Regions from separate parts of the Homo sapiens genome. Here regions 2 and 3 are each linked to region 1. Evidence: promoter capture Hi-C in 16 types of primary human blood cells and fetal thymus (Javierre and others, 2016). All regions are on one chromosome and are shown on one strand. The core of a region is centred on a gene start or on the middle of the fragment in contact, and the rest is flanking DNA. Distances in the headings are between cores, read along the strand shown.

Region 1 (3,858 bases), core at 645-3,144:
TCACTTATTAGCAAATTACTCCAATCTCTCAGAATCTTAGTTTTTTCATCCGTGGAATGGGTTAATACTCACCCCATAAAATGTTTATAAGGAAAGCACCTTGTACCTAGAAAACACTCAAAATATTAGTTCTTTCCTTTCTCCCTTTTATTTATCAAAACTATTAAAGCAGACCAGGCGCGGTGGCTCACGTTTGTAATCCTAGCACCTTGGGAGGCCGAACCAGGTGGATCACCTGAGGTCAGTAGTTCGAGACCAGCCTGGCCAACATGGCGAAACCCTGTCTCTACTAAAAATACAAAAATTAGCTGGGCACGGTGACAGGAGCCTATAATACCAGCTACTCGAGAGGCTGAGGCAGGAGAATTGCTTGAACCCGGGGGGTGGAGGTTGCAGTGAGCCAGGATCATGCCACTTCACTTCAGCCTGGGCAAAAGAGCGAAACTCCATCTGAGAAGAAAAAACAAACAAACAAACAAAAAACTATTAAAGCAAAACCTCTGATGCTTGATTTTTATATAATAACGTTGTGTGGCAACTTAAAAACTGTGTCATTTATAGGCACTCAAGGCAAGGAAAATGTTTAGAGTCCTTATTTTTAAAATTGGAATTTTCTATAAAAGTTCAGAATGTTTTTAATTTAAAGTTGTTTTAAGCACAAAGTAATACAATTTATCCATGAAGGTTAAACATTTTAATTTTTATCATTAACTTTTATTTGTAATTGTTTTCTACCTTTTAAATTAAATATTCGTTACAAATTTAATTGAGAAGAGGGAAGGAGGGGGAGAATGAATGAGTGGATTCTTATAGTTTGAGGGGGTAAGACCTCCATTTTTATACTATTTTTTTGTTTTGTTTTTATTTTTATTTTTGAGGCAGAGTCTTGCTCTGTTGCCCAGGCTGGAGTGCAGTGACCGAATCTTGGCTCACTGCAGCCTCAACCTCCCAGGTTCAAGCGATCCTCCCACCTCAGCCTCCCGAGTAGCTGGGACTACAGGTGCGCACCACCACGCCTGGCTAATTTTTGTATTTTTAGTAGAGATAGAGTTTTGCCATGTTGGCCAGTCTGATCTCGAACTCCTGGACTCAAGTGATCTGCCCGCCTTTGGCCTCCCAAAGAGTTGGGATTATAGGCGTGAGCCACTATGCCTGGGCTACTTTTTTACTTTCACTTTTCTAAAATGCTCTCAAAGAGCTGTTGTTGCCGTTTATACTTAAAACTCCCAGTTTTACTTCGCCCAAACCAATCCTGGGCAGGCAGCAGGAGTGGACACACATACTGCAATACTCCAGGGCTGCAGCATCAGACCCAGAGGAGGAGGGAACTGCTGGATTAATAACGCGGAGGAGGAGGAGGGGTATGAGTCTATTCCAAAATTGGCCTTTGCCCTTCAAAGAGGAAAAGACCACTTATTGTTTGTGCAATCAAAAGGTTTGTTTCCTAGATATTTTCCCCAGGAGAAAAAAGTTTCCCAGGAAACCGAGAAAGAAATTATAACGAAAATAGCTATTGGATGAATTTTTTCCTCAAGCTTCATTTTTACATCATTATAATATTTGTGCTGTAATGAAGGTTGGGAGTCCTCTGGGGCAGACCAGTCTATTTGGGAGGATATGTATGGAGTTTGTGTGTGAGTACATGCGGGTGAGTGGGCGTGAGTGTGGAAAGTATGTGTGTGGAACCTCTGTGTGTGTGGAATGTGGAGCGTATGCACAATGTGTGTGGAGTTTGGAGTGTGTGTGTGGACGAGTGAGTGTGGAAGTGTGGACGTGTGTGGAAAGTGCACAGTGCGTGCGGAGTTTGGGGTGTTTGTGCACGCGCGTGTGTGGCAGGTCCTGGAGCGCGTCCACGCGACACCCCATGTGTAGTGTGCGCGCGCGCGCGCCCCCGCGCCGCCCCTTCGGCCCGGCCCTGTGTGCGGCGGCTGCTGCCGGGCCGGGCGGCGGGAGCGCGCGGCGTCGGAGGCCGCCCCTCTGCGGAACGCCGAGAGCCCCGGGAGAGTGAAGGGCCGGGGAGGACAAGGCGCCCCGGGCCCAAAGCGCGCCGGCTCCCGCTCGGGCGGCCGCGGACATGTGCAGGATGTCCTTCAAGGTGAGCGACCGGGACTCCGGGGTCAGGGCTGGGGCCGGGCTCGGGCGGCCGGGCCCGCGGGGTCGGGTGGGGTGGGATGGGGTGGGATGGGGTGGGCGCTGCCCGCTGCCCGCCGCCTCCTCCTTCCTCTCTCCTCCAGCTGCGGGCGAGGCCCGGGAGGAAGCGGCGGGGCTGGGTGCGCCCTGTGGGTTTGCGGTTTGCCTGCCTGCCCTGCCTGAGAGGCTTCGCACTCATGGCTGTGGATCGGCTGAGTCTGTGCCCGGCGACGGGGCGGCGGGGACTGTCGCCGGGTAACAGGTCGGGGGCGGGTAAGAAGCCTGGGGTCAGCGCTGTCCTGCAGCAGAAGGAGTCCCCGACCCTGACCCTCTGGGTCCTCATGCAGGAGTACCAGCTGCACCCACGGATGCCTCCTCCCCGGAGGGGTGGCCAGCACCCAGGGAGGCTTCAGGGTCCAAAGGTGTCTTGTCTCAAAAGAGTTGATTAAAGTCATTCCATCTAATCCCCACATTTTAGGATGAAAGAGGTTGATTTGCCTCGATTGAAAGGGTTTAATAAAAATAGCAGTTAAAATGTATTAAACAGTTCAAATGTGCCTGACTCTGAACCAAGGACATGGTGTGTATGGTCTCAACCCTGGGGGAGACCTGTGGGAGGTGCTCTTCGTGGCTCTTTTTTTTTTTTTTTTCAAATGAGAAAACTAAGATATAGAGAAATTAACTCACCCACGGTTTTGCAGCCAATAAGTTATGGTGTTAAGACTGAAACCCAAGTGTGTCTGACTCCTAAGCCACTGTAATCCCGTTGCCGACAATAGCTCATGTAAGCAGAGGAGTGACATGGCGAGATGTGCATGTTGCAAAGATCTCTGGCTAGGTTTGGAGAAGAGGGTTGGAGCTGGAAGATGTTGTCATCTTTTTAAGAAATGGTACTGGACCAGTGCATAGGTGGTGAGAATGGAACGAAGCAGACGAATGTGAATGACTTTAAAGTTTTTTTTCCTGAGACGGAGTTTTGCTCTTGTTGCCCAGGCTGGAGTGCAATGGTGTGATCTCAGCTCACTGCAACTTCCGCCTCCCGGGTTCAAGCTATTTCTCCTTCCTTACCCTCCAGAGTAGCTGGGATTACAGGCGTGCGCCACCATGCCCAGCTAATTTTTTCGTATTTTTAGTAGAGACGGGGTTCTGCCATGTTGGCGAGGCTGGTCTCGAACTCCTGACCTCAGGTGATCCACCCTCCTTGGCCTCCCAAAGTGCTGGGGTTAAAGGCGTGAGCCACTACGCCCGGCCGACTTTAAAAGTTTTAAATCGGCATAATTCAGTAGGGAAGGCAAGAGAGATAAAGATAAAACGTTTGGTTTGGGATAAATTTTGAGGATAGATGGGAATCCAAGCAGAGATGTTGATTAGACAGATATACTCTCCTCGATCCCAGGAGGCAAGTCTGGGCAGCAGCTAGAGATGAGATTTAGGAGTCAGCAGTGTTAAGTAGGCACCCATGGGAATGAACATGATTGCCCAGTGGAACCATATAAAGGTGGAAAATAAGAGGACTGAGGACAAAATCTTGAAGAAGATTTGAGAAAGAGCAGCCAGAGACGAATGAGAAAACTCAGAAGCATGTGCTGTCACTTACACCAAGCATCTCTAATCTTTCAACAAAGATGAAGAGGACCTTGATGTTTATTAATGCCACAGGGAAATCAAATAAACAAAGAATTGAAAAGTCCATTGGATTTAGTGACGGAATAGGCACTGGTGACCTTG
Region 2 (3,858 bases), core at 685-3,184, 250 kb before region 1:
GCTCACCAAAGGCAGAGCAAGAATTGAAACCAAGACAGTCTGGCTTGGTTAAACAGCTGTTAACCACTGTGCTATAATACACTTCAAATTTTTGTTGGATAAATTAGTGAATGAACACAGAAGGGTAAAAGCTAGCATACATTCTTATTCATTTGGTTTTTATAAAGCATGTATGAGTGTGAAGAGGGTGCGTTCTTCCAAACTTTGCCTTATGCTCTTTGTTTTCCTGTTCAAGTTTTTATGTTGGGAATACTTTGCTTTCTTAGAAGAAAGGGCAGATTCTGAGGCTCAAAAGAAGTAACAGTGAGCCTGGTTATTGGGCACGATGCCTCCAGGGCAATGATATTCTGACTAGGCTCTCCAACCCTCTCCCTCCAAAACTCTCCTGTAGGGCTGTCTAGGAGTTATTGGAAAATATAAGAAATTGTATTTATGCCATTTTAGGACAAAACAAATCTCAAGAGACAAGTGTCAGTAATTCAAGCAAATAATGTCAGGTTAAAACAAGAAAGGCTGGTGAATCAGTACTCCAATGATGGAAAACTGCTGTCATCTTAAATCCTCCATCCTCAGCAAAGATGGATTCTACAACTTTCAAGTTACAATAGGAGGGTAGGTCCTGTGCAGTATCACACTGGCACATTCTGACCACAGAACCCTCCCTTGAATGTGCAATTACAGTTTACAAACTGGGGCCTGGAAGAAAATCCTTCTTTCTGCCTGAATAAACTCAATGGGGGCAAATTGCTTCAGGATCCTGATATACCAGATAATGTAAGGATGAAGGTCATGTACACTTGTAAAGGATGACAGGAGAAAATCAATCTTTATATTCAAGCAACACAAGAATTGGGGAAAGAAAGACAACCAATTCTTGAGTAAATAAGTGTTTTTTTCTTTCTTGATAAATGTGATAACTCATTAAAGAACTAGCCTTGGCCACTGACCACGTGGGGACACACTCACCTTACTGGCAGCATCTCTGGCCTGCTGAATTAGTTCTCGTATTCTGTCCATGTTGTCAGAGATGTTTCCCAAGGGCAACAGCTGTTGGTTGATACTTTCAATCTTGCGCCAAAGATCAGGTAGTTTGTTGGTTAACTTATTCACTGTTGGTGAGAAAAAAAATAGAAATGTAAGATTGTGCATTAAGAAAAGGCTAACTACAAATGTTCTTACTGACAGTATTTGTCAAGTGGCATGTTTGGTCCCCAGATGTTGAACAGGATGGGTCATAATTAGTTACGGTAGTTCCCCCCTTACCCATGGTTTCACTTCCCAAGGTTTCAAGTACTTGCTATCAACCATGGTCCAAAAATATTAAAAAAGAAAAATTCCAGAAATAAGCAATTCATAAGTTTTGAATTGGGTGCTGTTTGGAATAGCATGACGAAATCTCATATGGTCCCACCCATGTGAATCTTCCTTTTTTCCAGCATATCCTTGCTGTCTACCCTACCCACCCATTAGTCACTTAGTAGCTGTCTGGGTTATCAGATCGAAAAAACATAGTATATATAGGGTTTGGTACTATCTGTGGGTTCACACACCCAGTAGGGGTCTTGGAACATATCCCCTGAGGATAAGGAGGAACTACTGTACATGGTGAATTGTATTCTGCAATCTAGGTACCAAATCCTTTACTTTGACCACTACAGAAAGAAAAAAAAAAACCTTTGTTTTCTGATTCTTTTTCTTTCTTTCTTTCCTTTTTTTTTTTTTTTTTTTGTTTGAGATGGAGTCTCGCTCTGTCGTCCAGGCTGGAGTGCAGTGGTGCAATTTCAGCTCACTGCAACCTCCACCTCCCAGGATCACGCCATTCTCCTGCCTCAGCCTCCCGAGTAGCTGGGACTACAGGCGCCCATCACCACGCCTGGCTAATTTTTTGTATTTTTAGTAGAGACAGGATTTCACCATGTTAGCCAGGATGGTCTCGATCTCCTGACCTCGTGATCCACCCACCTCGGCCTCCCAAAGTGCTGGGATTACAGGCATGAGCCACAGCGCACAGAAAACACAGCCTGTTTTCTGATTCTTAATATCAATCATAATTCAATGCCTCATGATTTAGAAACATATATCTCCACTTTGTAAAAAAGCAAACCAATAGCATTTTCAATGTATTTTCTAAAAATTAAAAATCCTGTCTGGTCCTTCCAACTAGCAGGATATCTATACGCTTTGAATATATCCTGTATCAGGTGGAGCTGTTTTCTAATGTTTTAGTTTCTGAGATCAGACTTTACCAGGGAAGAATGGAAATGGACCAAAACACATAACAATGGAGAGAATGGCTAAGATGTCCTGGCCAGAGATCGCCTGATACCCGAGTTATCTGCATCAGTCAGAGCCTTTTTGAAGTCTTCGTTCTGTGTCCTCCCATAGGTGTCCTTAATTCTTTCCACATCTGTCTGGATGGGGTTGAGCCCATCCAGAACCTCATCTGTGATGTCGTTGGCCTTTCTGACCATGCTCTTTGCACTACTGATCATAGCATCAATATCACCTAATGCACACACAGATAGGGAGGTATAAGTATCTAAAACGTTCAACAAAAGAAGCCAACCGAGTACAATGGATTAGGAAGATGCTGACCTCTCTGTATCCCATGAAGACCATCTCGGAGAGTTGTGAGATTGGTGTCTATCACTTCTTTCTGAACTGTCACAATATTCAGGGTTTGCTGTAGGTTGTTGAGAGCTGGACTGACTTCTAAAATAAAATAAAGCATCAGGAGGCAATTACTTTGTGCATTTTGATCCTCCATTGGTATTTGTGGCCCCTGAAGTAGCCAGTGTCTGCACAGCATTGAGTAGACTTGCTTCTTAGGGGTCACCTCAGAGATGCCCACTGCATGTGCCCAGACCCACAGCTCTGGGATCCTCCAGTTACAGAGGTCAGCAGCAAATCAGAGCCTTGTGGTAATGCCTTGGAAATACACAGGAAGAAAGAAAGAGGCTGAATAACTTGGGGAAGGCTAAACTTCTTAACTGCTCAGAGTAAGAGACTCTGTTTAGTAAAAGATGCATCTGTCTTATCCACTACCATGTCCTACCACATAATGTAGTGTCTGGCACTAGTTGAGGCGTAATATTAGTATATGTTTGTTGAGTAAATGAATACATGAGTGAATGAATGAATTAATAATGTAGAAAGGATCCTCTTCCATCAGAGGACAAGAAAAGAGTGTTGTTGAAAGAGCCTCATCCAGGCAAATACAGACACAAAGTAGGCACTGTTTGTTTCTGTTAATTTCCAAAATGACACATTTTAAAAATTCTGTGAAAGAAAGGGAGCTAGCAGACATTCCTAGCTGATAATATTGCCATCCTTGGGTCATCAAAAATGACCAGCAAATGCTTTAAGACCATCTTGATGATTCATGGCTTCAATTACGATTCCAGGACTGGTTTACATAGCAACATAGTTAGCATCCTAACCCTGTTTAGCACACTGAGCCTACCTCGAAGCTCAAATTTTGTAGAGAGAAATAGATGTCATACCAGGAAATCCAAATTATTGAAATTTGCAAGGCAAATGATTGTATGTTAGTACTTTTTTGGTATTTTATTTTTCATGTCTTTAATTTTTTAACATGTGAAGGAAAGAGAGAAAGAAAGAAGGAAGGAAAAGAAGGAAGCAGAAAGGAGAGAAATTATTTAATTTACAGAGGCATCATTTAATCCCTCTGAAAGGACTAAGAGGCTGAATGAGGGCCTTGGACTCATGGATGACAACAAGAGCCTGGAGAAACACAAGAAACAGCATTTTTCAAACACAGAAATTTGGTGAGATTGAGAGAGTTTAATTATTTAAAAAAATAAGTAAGTAAAATACATGAAAATTTTCCAGAGATAA
Region 3 (3,858 bases), core at 452-2,951, 140 kb before region 1:
AAGGGGAGCCAGTACATCACATAGCAAGAACAGAAGCAAGGTAGGGGGAGGTATCACACACTTTTAAACAACCAGATCTCAAGTGAACTCAGAGAGAGATCTCACCCACTATCAGGAGGACAATACTAAGCCATTCATGAAGGATCCATCTCCATGATCCAAACACCTCCCACCAGGCCCCACCTACAACATTGGGGATCAGATTTCAACACGAGGTTTGGAGGGGGCAAACATCCAAACTATATCACTGTCCTACATCAGGGGTCTATCAACTCTGGTCCTGTGTCATAATTTAGGTCACAGGGATCTTGATCACCTTTCCCTTCCATAAGGCATCACATCGGTCTATTACATTGAGGACATTATGCTAATTGGAGCTAGTGAACAAGAAGTAGCAACTACTCTAGACTTATTGGTAAGACATTTGGGTGTCAGGAGGTAAAAATTAAATGCAATAAAACATCCAGAGTCTTCTACCTCAGTTAAATTTCTAAGGGTCCAGTAGTGTGAGTCCCAGAACAAGGGAAGGCTCTGCAGCAGGTCCAGGCTGCTGTGTAAGCTGTTCTGCCACTTAAAGCATATGACTGAGCAGATCTAATGGTGCTTTTAAGTGTCAGTGGCAGATAGGGATGCTTTTTGGAGCCTTCAGCAGGCCCACATAAGTGAACGACAGTGCAGACCCTTAGGATTTTGGAGCAAAGTCCTGCCACCGTCTACATATAAGCCATCCTCTGCAGATAACTTTTTTTTGAGAAACAGCTTTTCACTTTCTACTGGGTCTTAGTAGAGACAGAAGGCTTAACCATGGGCCATGAAGTCACTATGTGATGTGAGCTGACCATTATGAACTGGGTGTTATCTGACCCACGAAGCCATAAGTTGGGCAAGCACAGCAGCATTCCGTCATCAAATGGAAGTGGTATACATAAGATTGGATCCAAGCAGCCTCTACACAAGTAAGCTATGCAAAGAACGCCACACTCCACACTCCTGCTACATTCCACATCTACAGCATTATGGTGAGTTCCTTGTGATCAGTTAACAAAGAAAGAGAAAACTTAGGCCTGTTTTAGACCAGGTATTGCAAGATATGGAGGCATCACCTGAAAGTGGACAGCTGCAGCACATTTGTGCCTTTCTGGGACATCCTGAAGGACAGTGGTGAAGGGAAATCCTCCCAGTAGGGAGAACTTTGAGCAGTGTGCTGGTTGTTCACTTTGCTTGGAAGGAGAAATGGCCAGATGTGAAATTACATATTGATTAATGGGCTGTGGCCAATTCTTTGACTGGATGGCCAGGGACTTTGAAGGAACATGATTGGAAAATTGGTGACAGGAAGATCTGGGGAAGGGTCTGAGTGAAAACCCTCTCTAAATGGCTAAGAAACATGTCCTAGGTGAATGCTTCCCAAGTAGACAGGAGGATCTGTTCTGTGGATACCCGGCAGCCTCTGTCCCATCCACTTCTATCATTGTCCAGTGGGCTCATAACAAAGTAGCCATGGGGGCAGGGATGGAGTTTATCCCTGGGCTCAGCAAAATGTACTTCCACTCACCACAGCTGAGTTCCCAGTCTGCGAGCAGCAGAGACCAATACCAAGTCCTCAATATGGCACCATTCTCCAGGGTAATCAGCTGGCTACCTGGTGGCAGGTTAATTACTTTGAACTGTCCTATCATGGAAGGGGAAGTGTTTTGTTCTTATTGGAATGGACACTTACTTGGATACAGAAATTCCTTCTCTGCATGCAATGCTTCTGTCAAAACTACATTTGTAGACTTACAGAATGCTTTATTTACTGTCATAGTATCCACATAGTATTGCTTCTGATCAAAGAACTCGCTTCACAACAAATGGAATGCAGCAGTGAGCCCATGGTCATGGAATTCACTAATCTCACCACTTTCCCCACCATCCTGAACAGGTGGCTTAATACAACAGTGGAATGGCCTTTTGAAAACTCAGTTACAGTGAGTTTTCACTGTAGGTGAAAACTACTAGGTGGCAGTACCTTGCGGGGCTGAGGCAAGTTTCTCCAGAAAGCAGTATCTGCTCTGAATCATTGTACAACATATGGTTTCTCTGATAGCCAAGATTCACGAGTTCAGGAATCAAGAGGTAGAAATGGGAGTGGCATCACTCACTATAAACCCTAGTAATCAACTAGCTTCCAATCCCAGCTGCCTTCTGCTCTGGTGGTCGAGAGGTCTTAGTTCCAGAGGAAGAAATGCTTCTACCAGGAGACGTGACGATCATTCTATTGAACTGGAAGTTAAGACTGCTACATGGTTTCCTCATTCCTCTGAATCAACAGATGAAGATAGAAGCAATTGTGTTCCACTAATTACCAAGGGGAAAATGAACTGTTCTTCAAAAATGGAGGTAAGGAAGAATATGTCTAGAATACAGGAGATGACTTAAGGTGTCTCTTAGTATTACCATGTCTTGTGATTAAAGTCAATGGAAAACTACAACCCAATTCAGGCAAGACTACTGATGTCCTAGACCCTTCAAGAATGAAGATTTGTGTCACTTCACCAGGTAAAGAACCATGAGGTGCTTGCTGAGGGCAAAGGGAATATGGAATGGGTGGCAGAAGAAGGTAGTTACAAATACAGTTTGAGTATCCCTTATCCGAAATGCTGGGACCAAACATGTTTTAGATTTTTTATTTTTTCAGATTTTGGAATATTTGCATTATACCTGATTGGGCATCTCAAATTTGAATATTCAAAATCCAAAATTTTCCAATGAGTATTTGTTTTGAGCATCGTGTCAGCACTCAAAAAGTTCTGGATGCGGGAGCATTTTGGATTTTTGTATTTGGGATGCTCAACTTATACCAGCTATGACCATGTGACCTGTTACAGAAATTAGTATTTGTAATTGTAGTGAGTATTTCTTCCTATTTTGTTATGAATATGTTTTTTCTGTATATGCGTATGTTATATGTATGTAAAACAAAAATCTTTGTTTTCCAACTGAACAGCAAAAAATCAAATAATGTGATTTAAAAGTGGGCAAAGGATATAAATAGACATTTCTAAAAAGAAGACATACAAAAGGCCAACAAGTATACGAAAAAATGTTCAACATCACTAATCATCAGGGAAATGAAAATCAAACCCACAATGAGATATCATCTCCGTTAGAATGGCTATCATCAAAAAGACCAAAAATAGCAAATGCTGGAAAGGATGTGAAGAAAAGGAAACTATTATACATTATTAGTGGGAATGTAAATTGGTACGGCGATTATGGAAAACAGTATGGAGGTTTCTTTAAAAACTAAAAGTAGAACTACCATACAATCTAGCCATCTCACTACTGAGTATCTATCCAAAGAAAAGGGAATTTGTATATGAAAGGGACACCTGTGCCCCCATGGAGGTTTTTAGGCTCTAAAATGCAGGTAACATTTTTTTTCAACTTTTAATTTAGGTTCAGAGGGTACATGTGTAGGTTTGTTAGTTATATGGGTAAACTGAGTGTTGCTGAGGTTTGGTGTATGAAACCAAAAAATCGCCCAGGTACTGAGCATAGTACCTGATAGGTAGTTTTTCAGCCTTCACCCACCTCTCATCCTCCTCCCTCTAGAAGTCCCCAGTGTCCTCCAGTGTCTTTTGTTCTCATCTTTATGTCCATGTGTACTCAATGTTAAGCTCCTACTTATAAGTGAGAACATACGGTATTTGGTTTTTCTACTCCTGTGTTAATTTACTTAGGATAATGGCCTTCAGCTGCATCCATGTCACTGCAAAGGACATGAGTTCATTCTTTTTTATGGCTGCATACTATTCCATGGTGTATAAGTACCATATTTCCTTTATCCAGTTCACTGTCGATGGGCATCTAGAT

Evidence for each region. Contacts are between HindIII fragments. The CHiCAGO score rates a contact against its expected background, and 5 or more counts as called.
Region 2: a fragment that was not itself captured here is called in contact with the fragment with the promoter of ANKRD29 in region 1 in 1 of 17 cell types (M1 macrophages); the score reaches 5.2 in M1 macrophages.
Region 3: a contact is called between a fragment that was not itself captured here and the fragment with the promoter of ANKRD29 in region 1, in 4 of 17 cell types (M1 macrophages, M0 macrophages, M2 macrophages and 1 more). The highest score is 7.0, in M1 macrophages.

The regions. Positions count from the first base shown.
Region 1 is chr18:23,660,947-23,664,804 of GRCh38, reverse strand. It overlaps ANKRD29 (ankyrin repeat domain 29), which reads left to right and starts at 1,894. Exons shown (of 10, transcript NM_173505.4): 1 at 1,894-2,095. The coding sequence starts at 2,075. The HindIII fragment of the contact is 8,557 bases long and covers 1,538-3,858 here.
Region 2 is chr18:23,906,404-23,910,261 of GRCh38, reverse strand. LAMA3 (laminin subunit alpha 3) reads right to left here. Exons shown (of 75, transcript NM_198129.4): 53 at 2,596-2,712; 54 at 2,327-2,506; 55 at 967-1,109. Among named protein-coding and RNA genes, the nearest start is that of LINC02958, 74 kb to the left of the region's middle. The HindIII fragment of the contact is 6,258 bases long and covers 1-3,858 here.
Region 3 is chr18:23,801,032-23,804,889 of GRCh38, reverse strand. All of the region lies in intron 12 of LAMA3 (laminin subunit alpha 3), which reads right to left. Among named protein-coding and RNA genes, the nearest start is that of LAMA3, 110 kb to the right of the region's middle. The HindIII fragment of the contact is 4,878 bases long and covers 1-3,858 here.